Linked DNA regions of Homo sapiens: regions 1 and 3 are each linked to region 2. The links are contacts of gene promoters, found by promoter capture Hi-C in blood cells and fetal thymus (Javierre and others, 2016). All regions are on one chromosome and are shown on one strand. Each heading gives the region's core, a stretch centred on a gene start or on the middle of the fragment in contact. The rest is flanking DNA. Distances are from core to core; before and after follow the strand shown. Region 1 overlaps LOC124904728 (a long non-coding RNA gene). Region 2 holds the start of NOVA2 (NOVA alternative splicing regulator 2). Region 3 has its middle 33 kb from the start of HIF3A.

Region 1 (3,403 bases), core at 742-3,241, 270 kb before region 2:
AGATTTACTTCCACGTTTTCTGCTAGGAATTTTTTTAGGAAATTGACAAAGAATAATTGTTTATTCACATTGGGTAAAATGTGATGATTTAATGTAGGCTTAACTTGTTGAATGATTAAATCCAGTTAATTACGCTATCTATCACCTCAGGTACTTATAATTTTTTAATTTTGTTTATTTTTTGTTTTTGTAGAGACAGGGTTTCATTGTGTTGACCAGGGTGGCTTGAAACTCCTGGCCTCAAGTGATTCTCCCCACTTGGCCTCCCAAAATGCTGGGATTACAGGCATGAGCTACAGTACCTGGCCCTAAGGATTTTTAACATACAAGATCATGTCATTTGCAAATAGAAACCATTTTACTTCATCTTGCTCAATCTGAATGCATTTTCTCTTCTTGCCTAACTTTCCTGGCTTGAACCTCCAGAGCTATGTTGAATAGAGTGGTAAGAGTGAATATACTTATCCTGTTCCTGATGTTAGGGGGAGAGCATTCAATCTTTCACAATTAAGTATGATGTTAGCTATGAGTTTATTGTAGATGCTCTTTAACAGGTTGAGGAAGCTCTCTTCTGTTCCTAGTTTGTTCTTTGTACTTTATCATGAAAGAGTGTAGATTTTGTCAAATGCTCTTTCAATATCATTTGAGAGAATTACGTGACTTCCTCTATAGTCTAGTAATATGGTATATTATATTGATTGATTTTCTTATGTTGAACCAACTGCATCCCCGGGATAAATCCCACTTGGTCATGATGTATCATTGTTTTTTTTTTTTTTTTTTTTTCGGAGTCTCGCTCTGTCACCCAGACTGGAGTGCAGTGGTACGATCTTGGCTCACTGCAATCTCCACCTCCCGGGTTCAAGCAATTCTCCTGCCTCAGCCTCCCAAGTAGCTGGGACTACAGGAGCGTGCCACCATGCCGGGCTAATTTTTTGTATTTTTAGTAGAGACGAGGTTTCACCATGTTAGCCAGGATGGTCTCGATCTCCCGACCCCGTGATCCACCCACCTTGGCCTCCCAAAGTGCTGGGATTACAGGTGTGAGCCACTGTGCCCGGCTGATATATCATTCTTTATATATGCTGCTGGATTTGGTTTGCTATATTTTGTTGAGGATTTTTGAATTTATATTCATAAGAGATGTTGGTCTGTAGTTTTTTCTTTTTAATTTCTTGTGATATCTTTGATTTTGGTGTTAGGGTAATACAGACCTCAGAGTAAATTGGAAAGTTCTGTTTGACTTTTTTGAAAAGTTTGTGAATGATTGGTATTAATTCTTCTCTAAATGTTTTGTAAATTTTACTGTCTGGGTCTGGAGGGGCATTTCCAGTATATGAGCATTCCCCTTTCTCTGCATCCTTGCCAGCATCTGTTATTCTTTGTCTTTTTGATAAAAGCCATTTTAACCGAAGTGGGACATCTCAGTGTGGTTTTGATTTGCATTTCCCTGATGATAAGTGTTGTTGAACATTTTTTCATATATCCGTTGACTATTTGTATGTCTTCCTTTAATACATGGCTATTCAGACCTCTTGCCCATTTAAAAATCAGATTCTTTATTTTTCCCAGCAATACAATTACATACATATTGTTTCATGCCATGACTTTTAAAACCAGTTAAGGGGAGAAAGGGTAAGAAATAAGCGATTATGCTGTTTTTATAAGTAATTACACAATTACATATAAGCAATAATTATATAACATGCATACAAGTAATAATTACATAATTACATATGAACAATTATACCTTTCTTAGTGCTCTCCAGAGGGTGCAGCCCTAAGCATACGCACTGTCTCTCTAACTACTCCAGATAGTTATGGCATAAGCTGGCCTCTTTTTGACTGTCCTTTCCTTGATGTTTCTGTTAAGCTTCTGGCTTGTCTGCCTCTGTTGGTATCACTTGCATCTGTTAGACTCCTCTTATTGTTAATTGATTGCTCTATTCTTTTTAATAGGCCTATAGCACAATGCATAAATCATTTTGTGGGCTGATTAAAGTCTAGCTTCTTTGCCAAGTCAGAGTGTTGCCAGGGTTTGAGGCTGTCTCTCACTCCAGGAGGGCCCTTCTTAGTTATCTCTTTTTCTGATTATCTCTGTTAAGCTTCTGCCTTGTCTTTTTGTTTGTTGTTGCTACTGCAAGCCCTTTTTTGGTTTTTCAGCACCAAAATTTCCTTTTTTATTTTTTCAATGTCATTAAGCATCAACTTCTCCACACTCTTATTTCAAGTAAAGCCAGTTTTAGGGATACTTGTGGAGCTCTCTGTTCTGATGGCCTCCCTCTCCCCCGGGCAGAACCACTGAGCCGCTGGACTGGAGCTGGTGTCAGGGACAGCAGCTAGCTTCTCCTGCGGTGATGTCTTTCCTCTACAGCTAGAACACTGGGAGGGGGTGGTAGCTGTTCGTCTTCTCGGTTTGCCCTTTCTTGTGTGGAACCTCTGCCCCATGAGTGAACTCAGGCAGGATCAGTGAAGCCCAGTGTGCTTGACCTGCTAAACCTGGCGTGGAACTTCCACGCTAGGAGGAGGGGCTGGATGGGAGAAGGAGCCCCGGTGCTGCAAGCCACAATTTCTAACTAATATAGCACATCCGCAACATGGAGACAGCAGGATAAAAGATGCTGGTGCACTGCCCTTTCTGAACTGAAACTGTAGCCCTAGGCTGGGAGCTGGGGAGAGGTGGAGTCCCATTTTCTTGACTGTGACTGACCATAATAGAGCTTCAATTACAGAGTTGGCTGGGGATGTGGGGAATAGGAGTAATGTGTGGCTTAAATGCCCTCAGACTCTTGCTGCTGTTTACAGATTGAGTATAATGTCTTTTTCTTTTTCTTTCTTTCTTTTTTTTTTTTTTTTTTTTTGAGACAGAGTCTTGCTCTGTCATCAGGCTGGAGTGCTGTGGCGTGATCTTGGCTCACTGCAACCTCTGCCTCCAAGGTTCAAGGGATTCTCCTGCCTCAGCCTCCGAAGTAGCTGGGATTACAGGCATGCGCCACCACACCCGGCTAATTTTGTATTTTTAGTAGAAACGGGGTTTCTCCATGTTGGTCAGGCTGGTCTCGAACTCCCGACCTCAGGTGATCTGCTCTCCTCAGCCTCCCAAAGTGTTGGGATTACAGGTGTGAGCCACCGCACCTGGCTAACAGAATTTCTTGAATAAACATTTCTTCGTTTGCGATATGCCCTAAGGACAATTTCCAGAGACTTAATTAGTTGTTTTTATTAAAAATTTTTTTTCACCAGTTAAATGGTTGTTTTGCTGGGAGGAGGGCGCCCATGCTCTTCACACTGGCTTTTGGAAATCCTGCTTTATAGTTTGAAATCTTTTGCTTTTAAGTCTATGATCCATTTCAAATTAATTTTCACATTTGGTGTGACATAAGGGTCAAGATACATTCCCCCC
Region 2 (3,858 bases), core at 830-3,329:
TGTGTACCTGGGACATACCTGCATATTAGATGTGTGTCTGTCTATTTGTGTATGAGAGCCTGTGTTGTGGCCTTGCGTCTGCATGACTGAATGTGCATTACAGATGAGTGTGTATGTGTGTGTACGTGTGCCTATCCCCTATAAGTGTGTCTGTGTGACTGTGTTGAGACCGTGCACCTGCAGCAGGGCCAGTGTGACTCTGTGTGTGTCACACAGAGGGGGAAACTTCACAGCTAATTTCATGGATGTTGGGATATGTACCTGTGTGGTGTGAGGCTATTTGACTCAAAGGGTCTAAGGTGTGGTACTCAGCCTGACCCCCGTATCTCCCTATATCCGTCTTGCCTCTTCCCCATCTCCATGGCAACCAGCTCCTCAGCTCCCTCCAGGAAGATGGAGGGGGAGGATCCAGACTGCAGTGGACCACAGCCCCCTCCCATCCCCCTTGGCTCTGGGGACAATGGGGGGGAGGGGACAGATGGGTAGCCACCCCATCCACCCCAGGCCATCTGCTACCCTCCCCCATCCTGGGGACCTGAGAGCATGGCAAGGGAGGAGCAGGGGGGGGTTGGAGCCGATCCCCCTGCCGCAGATCACGCAGTGGCCACAATTACCTGCATCCAGACCCCTTCTGAGCCTAATCTTGCCTCTGACCAACCCAGGAAGGAAAGATTCCTTGGAGGTTAAGAACCCAGGGAGAAGGAAATTCTTGCATCAAGGAACACAGAATAATAGCAATGATCCATTCCAAAGAAAGGCACCCTAGTTCCAATGACTTTGGGCTCTGAAATTGGACTTGTCCTGCGTTCTCATCCCAGTTTCTCTCTCTCAAGCTGTGTGCCCTTGAAGAAGCCACCCTCAATGTTCCCAGGCCTCCACTTTGTCATCTGAAAACAAATTTTTCTTAATGACATGAGTAGTAATACTGTACAAGGGCCAAGGCTGTTTTGTTCTCTATTGTATCGCAGCATCAGGGACAGTGCCTGGCACTTAGTAGGTAGGCCCTGAGTGCTGTTGTTTGAATGGAGAGCCAGTTGTGCCCCAGGGCAGGTGCTGCAGGCTGCAACTCCAGCTCAGTGAATTCAATCCTCTGAGCCCTTTCAGCATCACGGTGTTGATTCTTCAAAGGATGGATGAAAGATTTGAAGGGGAATTTCCCAGCTGAAAGGATTGAAAAAGAGTGAAGTGAAATTTCTTTCTCTTTCTTTCTTTCTTTTTTTTTTTTTTTTTTGAGACAAGGTTTTGCTCTGTCTCCCAGGCTCGAATCTAGTTGCTTGATCATGGCTGACTGCAGCCTCAAACTCCTGTGCTCAAGAGATCCTCCCACCTCAGACTCCAGAGTACCTGGGGCTACAAGCATGTGCTACCACGCCTGGCTAATTAAAAAAAAAATTTTTTTTTTGTAGAGATGGGGTCTCACAATATTGTTGCCCAGCTCGTCTCAAACTCCTGGGCTCAAGTGATTCTTCCGCCTCGGCCTCCCAAAGTGCTGGGATGACAGGCATGAACCACCGCGCCTAGTCGAAATTTCTTGTCTTGACCAAGTGAAGTCAAAGTAAGCTCCTAAGGCTGTTTCCTCATCTGTAAAATAGGGATAATAAGCGTAACTCACAGAGCTGGTCGCTCTGGGGAGTAAATGCGATAACGTCTGTGACGTGCTTGCTTGGAACCGGACCTGGCACACAGTAAGTGCTCAATAAACGTTCATTCAAGGTGAGGAGTGGGGACGGCTTGGAGGAGCCCGGGGTCCTCCCAGCAGCCTGGGGGAGTCGGGTCCAGCTCTCTGCCGCCGGGAGGGGCGTGGCCAACCCAGAGGGACGTGGTCCAGGCTTCAAGGCTGGACCAATGGGGGCGCCGAAGGGCGTGGCCCTACCCGGCATGGGCGTGACCTCGTTGGGTGGGAGGGGCCAGGCGCTGTGGGAGCCTCCGGGAAGAAGATGCTCGGGCCAGCAGCCACCGCCAGCCCCGTCGCCGCCGCCGCCCGCGCCCGCCGCCCCCCGGGCCCCCACTAGCGGCCGCCTCCGCCTCCCACTCCGGCCACGCTCCTCCGGCCCCCCACCCCGAGCAGGGTCTGGGGGGCTCGGCCCTCTTGCCCCAGGGAGCCAAGAAGAAGCGGGGAGTCCCGTCCCCCCAGTGGCGCGTCCAGTCCCCAGCCTCTGTGGTCCCAGGAGAGACCCCACCTCTCAGTTCTTTCCCGGCCCTATCGGAGACCCCCCTCGGCCCTGCCATCCTGCTCACGGCCGCTCTCCAGGCTCTGTCAGCCCCCCGAGAACCGGCTCCCCCCTACCCCCGCCTTCCCTCTCCGGGGCTCCCCCTCCCCCATCCCTCCACCGCCCCCTCCCCCTCCCACCTCCCCTCCCCTCCCCCTCCCCCGCCCCCCGCCCCCCGCCCCCCCCCACCATGAGGATGATGGCCGCCGGCGCGGTGCACGGCCTCTTCACGGCCTCCGCGGCCCCGCAGCCGCCGCCGCCCCCGCCGCCGCCGCCGCCGCAACCCCAGCCTCCCCAGCAGCCGTCGCCGCCGCCACAGCAGCCGCCGCCGCCGCCGCCGCAGCCGCCGCAGCAGCAGCAGCCGCCGCCCCAGGCCCCCCCCATGGAGCCCGAGGCCCCGGATTCCCGCAAGAGGCCCCTCGAAACGCCCCCCGAGGTGGTCTGCACCAAGCGCAGCAACACGGGAGGTGAGAAAGGGCTGCGGCTCGGGGCGGGGGAGCGGGCAGGGGGCCTCGCCTTTCTCCATCCTTTCCCCCCCTCCCGTGGCAGGTGCAAGGGCTCTGGGGAGGGGAGAGACACCCCTCCCCGAGGCGGGGGACAGAGCGGGGAGTTGAGGAGGGGGCTGGACCCCCTCCTCCTCTCGCTGAGGCCCGGGGCTGGGAGCTTTGTCTGCGAGGAGAGGGGTGGGGGGGAGGGGGTGATAAGTGTCCTTGGGGGGCGCAGAAGATGGGGGGCGTGGGAGCCTCAGGGCAGGTGTCTGTGTGTCCTTGAGGGGTGTGTGATGTGACCCTTTCGGAGCAGGGGTGTTCCCCGAGCTCGCGTGTCCTGGCTGGGGGAGGGGAAGGAGTAGAGGCCTGTGGACCGGGAGCTTCCCAGCCTCCCTCCCTGGGGATGTCCTGAACAAGGGTTGTCCCAGATGGAGGCTTGTGTGGCCCTGGCCGGATCGTGCGTGGGGACAGGCTGGGTAGGTGTGTGGGGTGAAATGGAGGAAATGGTGGGTGTGTAAAGCTAGGTGGGAGAATGTGAGGCTAGGACAGGTGTGTATGTGTGTGCGTGTGTGTGTATGTGTGCCCTCTACAGCCTGGATGTGTGACATTAGGGATCAGGAATATGACAGCATAGGGGGGTGTATGAGAAAGACAGGGGACAGGGGCTGGGCTCCATGTTTGAGACCCTCCAGCGGGTACGTGTGACAAGGAAAGGTGTGTGCTTGTCACCCCCAAGGGGGCTGTGGCAGAGTGTGACACATGAGAGGGTGTGTGTGACATGCAAGGAGGTGTGTGGGGGACACCGAATGGGCTGGCTCTGGGTGTCAGCCAGAAGAGGCCGTGTAGATCAGAGGAAAGGGGTCCAGTGTGTGTGACACAGGCGTGGCTGGTGAGGGGATGTGACAAGAAAAGGGTGTGGGTGTGACTCCAGAGAGGCTGTGGCTGGGTGTGACACATGGAGGTGTGCAACAGTGACATCAGAGGGGGTGTGTGCAACAGGGAAGGTGGGTGTATGACGAGGGAGAGGCTGGGGCTTGTGGGTGAAACGCACGAGGGTGTGTAAAAAGGAGAAGGAAGGATGGGTCCCCATGTGACAGGGCACGTGTGCATATGACACCCAGCTGTGTGTATGGGTGTAACAAGGAGAGGTGTGTGTGTGA
Region 3 (3,572 bases), core at 773-3,272, 290 kb before region 2:
GTGAGACCCCCATCTCTATGAAAAAGAAAAGAAAAGAAAAAAATTAGGCAGGCGCGGGGGTGCGGGCCTATAGTTCTAGCTACTTGGGGGGGTGAGGCAAGAGGATCATTTGAGCCCAGAAGATTGAGGCTGCAGTGAGCTGAGATCACACCACTGCACTCCAGCCTGGGCGACAGAGCAAGACCGAGAGTCACAGATGGCCTGTTCATTCCCTGCCTGTCTGGGGATGGGACCAAAGGCATATTATTTGGGACAGGTAAAAATCCTGTCAGTATATATGCTCATGTACAAGGACGATTAGCAGAAAAAGTAGTTGGAATCCCCTCGTGTCAAGGACAGGGAGAGAAATAGGAAGAACTTCATTGTTTTGTTTTGTTTTAAATAGAGACGGGCTTTCACCATGTTGCCCAGGCTGGTCTCAAACTCCTGGGCTCGAGCGATCGCTGGGTCTTCCAAAGGTCTGGGATTACAGGTGTGAGCCACCCTGCTGGGCTGAAATAGGAACTTAAAAAATGAATATGCCCCCCTCCACCACATGGGGGAGCCATAACCACGTTAATAACTCAGAAGCAGGCCCCACAAGTGAGTCAAATCAGCTCTGATGTCCCTCCAGGCTGAGGATGTAATTTAGAGGCATTTAGAAAATTCAGCTGAAACTCATACAGTTGCCTAAATGAACAGGTTTCCGAAGGATTTTCTTTCTCCAGTGTGGTTTGCCTAATTTTGTGGCCTCAGACAGCTGCTAACATTGTCCAAGTTTGGAGGTCCCAAATTTTCTGGCATCTTCAAAAAGATGCCACCTGCCCCCTTCACACTGCCTGGGTCAAAATATTGTGTTTTGCTTTTTGTTTTGAGATGGGGACTTGCTATGTTGGCTAGGCCGGTTTCAAACTCCTGGCCTCAAGTGATCCTCCTGCCTTGGCCTCCAGGCTGGAGTGCAGTGATGCAATCTCAGCTCACTGCAACCTCTGTCCCTCCGGTTCAAGAGATTCTCCTGCCTCAGGCTCCTGAGTAGCTGGGATTACAGGCACCGGCCACCATGTCCAGCTAATTTTTGTATTTTTTTTTAGTAGAGACCAGGTTTCACCATGTTGGCCAGGCTGGCCTCAAACTCTTGACCTCAAGTGAACTGCCCGAATGGGCCTCCCAAAGTGCTGGGATTACAGGCGTGAGTCACCGTGCCAGGCTTTGTTTCCCACCTTCTAAAATCCCATACAGGGTTAGATTATATGTGGGAACTGGCCATGGGACCAGTCCCTGGTGGGCACCACCCCTTATAACAGAGAAAGTTCCTAGTAGGTGTAGCTAACTGATTAACCTTTAACCTCTGCATTCCAATTTATTGGAGCTCCCATACAGATATGTGACTTTGCACTAGAGGATCTGAGATATATATGTGTGTGTGTATACATATATGTTGAGATGGAGTCTCACTCTGTCTCTGTCGCCCAGGCTGGAGTGCAGTGGTGCCATCACGGCTCACTGCAAACTCCACCTCCTGGGTTCAAGCAATTCTCCTGCCTCAGCCTCCCAAGTAGCTGGGATTACAGGTGTACACCACCACGCCTGGCTAAATTTCGTGTTTTTAGTAGAGATGGGGTTTCACTGCATTGGCTGGGCTGGTCTCGAACTCCTGACCTCAGGTGATCCACCCACCTTGGCCTCCCAAAGTGCTAGGATTACAGACGTGAGCCACTGCGCCCGGCCGAATCTGAATGATATCAATTGAGGTATTGGAAAGCACTAGAAAATTCTATGAGGTATCACCTGTTCTATGAGGACCCCAACTAAAGCAATAGTGTTACTCTCAGCGCTTCTGTAAGGGACACTGCAATATTGATGCGCCTGTGTTTTCTCACAGAATTACCCCATTAACCAGGGCAATCTAGTGGAGTTAGGACGAGGATTGTGTCGTAATTCGAGAGAGCTGGGAAGATGGTCCTTGGGCTCCCTGGATCAAAATATTATAGAGTTTTATTTTTCCAGAAGAATCAACCAATGCAGGCAGAGCAAGCAGCCCTGGAGTTGGGCATTAAACCATCAAGGATGTGGCAACTTAATAGCACGAGGCAGTGACAGCTGAGCATCGAGGATGGGGTCTCCAGCCCTGTGTGGCAGAGCTGCTCCCTCCTGCCTGGCATTGTGGATCCTGAAAGTCCTCAACTTGCTCCTCCACAATTGTCAGGGGAGATGGGTTCCTGGCCGGTCCTTTGTTTCTGGCTTCCAGAACAGCCAATTGCAGAGATAGTTTCCTACCTCTAGGAATGGTGTCTGCTCTGATTCTGTAAGAAAATTCCAGGAGCAGGGCCGGGCATGGTGGCTCACACCTGTAATCACTTTGAGAGGCTGAGGGGGTTTGGATCACTTGAGGTCAGGAGCTCAAGACCAGCCTGGCCAACATGGTGAAACCCCGCCTCTACTAAAAATACAAAAATTAGCTGGGTGTGGTGGTGCACACTTGTAAACCCAGGTACTCGGGAGGCCAAGGCACGAGGATCCTGGGAGGAAGGGGTTACAGTGAGCTGAGATCACGCCACTGCACTCCAGCCTGGACGACAGTGACACTCTGTCTCAAAAAAAAAAAAATTTAAAATTAAAATTAAAAAAAAGAGAAAATTTTAGGATAAGGTGCTATGGAGAAACCTCAGAAAAACAGCCAAAGGTGACAGAATTCTTGAATAAAAATGGGTCATAGGGATTTGTATCAAAATAAGTTGACGGTGTTTCCAGTTTGTTGAGCAGAGCAGCCACGTGAGGGTTTTGGGTTCCTGCTCTCCTCCTCCCATCCTCCCCCTCCAAACGCTCTGCTTCATGAAGTGGGGTTAACCAGGGTAGGGATGTGGTCTGACCACTGTGAAAATCAATATTATTTAAAAGCCACTTGAACCATAACAGCACTTTAAGTGATATGACTGTGATCTGAGTCACATATGATTACAACTTCCGTTTCTCACATTACAGGTCAACTCACTTTCTTCTTCTTTTTCTTTTGTTGTTGTTGTTTGCTTTTGAGATGGAGTCTCGTTCTGTCACCCAGGCTGGAGTGCAGTGGTGTGTTCTCAGCTCACAGTAACCTCCACATCCCGGATTCAAGCAATTCTCCTGCCTCAGTAGCTACCCAGATCTCGAGTAGCTGGGATCACACCTGGCTAATTTTTGTATTTTTAGTGGAGACGGGGTTTCACCATGTTGGCCAGGCTGGTCTTGAACTCCTGACCTCAAGTGATCCACCCGCCTCGGCCTCCCAAAGTGTTGGGATTACAGGTGTGAGCCACTGCGCCCAGACTAATTCATGTTCTTATTTTTCTTGTTCTGTATAATGACTAGGGAGAGTTAAATCACTTTGGGGCAAAAATCACTGCCTTCTGGTGTTTGTTTGTTTTTAGACACAGTCTGGCTCTGTCACCCAAGCTGGCAGGTAGTGGCGCGATCTCAGCTCGACTCTGCCTCCCGGGTTCAAGTCATCCTCTTACCTCAGCCTCCTGAGTAGTTGGGACTACAGGTGTGTGCGACTGTGCCCAGTTCATTTTTGTATGTTTTGGTAGAGGTGGAGTTTTGCCACGTTGCCCAGG

The links. The method cuts DNA at HindIII sites, captures the fragments that hold promoters and counts their contacts. A CHiCAGO score of 5 or more calls a contact.
Region 1: a contact is called between a fragment that was not itself captured here and the fragment with the promoter of NOVA2 in region 2, in 2 of 17 cell types (M1 macrophages and M2 macrophages). The highest score is 6.1, in M1 macrophages.
Region 3: a contact is called between a fragment that was not itself captured here and the fragment with the promoter of NOVA2 in region 2, in 2 of 17 cell types (M1 macrophages and M2 macrophages). The highest score is 6.3, in M1 macrophages.

Annotation. Positions count from the first base shown.
Region 1 is chr19:46,244,749-46,248,151 of GRCh38, reverse strand. The region is part of intron 1 of LOC124904728 (a long non-coding RNA gene); the gene reads left to right. Among named protein-coding and RNA genes, the nearest start is that of IGFL1, 17 kb to the right of the region's middle. The HindIII fragment of the contact is 232 bases long and covers 1,876-2,107 here.
Region 2 is chr19:45,972,086-45,975,943 of GRCh38, reverse strand. NOVA2 (NOVA alternative splicing regulator 2) reads left to right here and starts at 2,079. Exons shown (of 4, transcript NM_002516.4): 1 at 2,079-2,677. The coding sequence starts at 2,593. RefSeq lists a silencer at 1,754-1,913. The HindIII fragment of the contact is 31,968 bases long and covers 1-3,858 here.
Region 3 is chr19:46,262,398-46,265,969 of GRCh38, reverse strand. No RefSeq gene overlaps it. Among named protein-coding and RNA genes, the nearest start is that of HIF3A, 33 kb to the left of the region's middle. RefSeq lists enhancers at 364-658, 2,293-3,492. The HindIII fragment of the contact is 8,186 bases long and covers 1-3,572 here.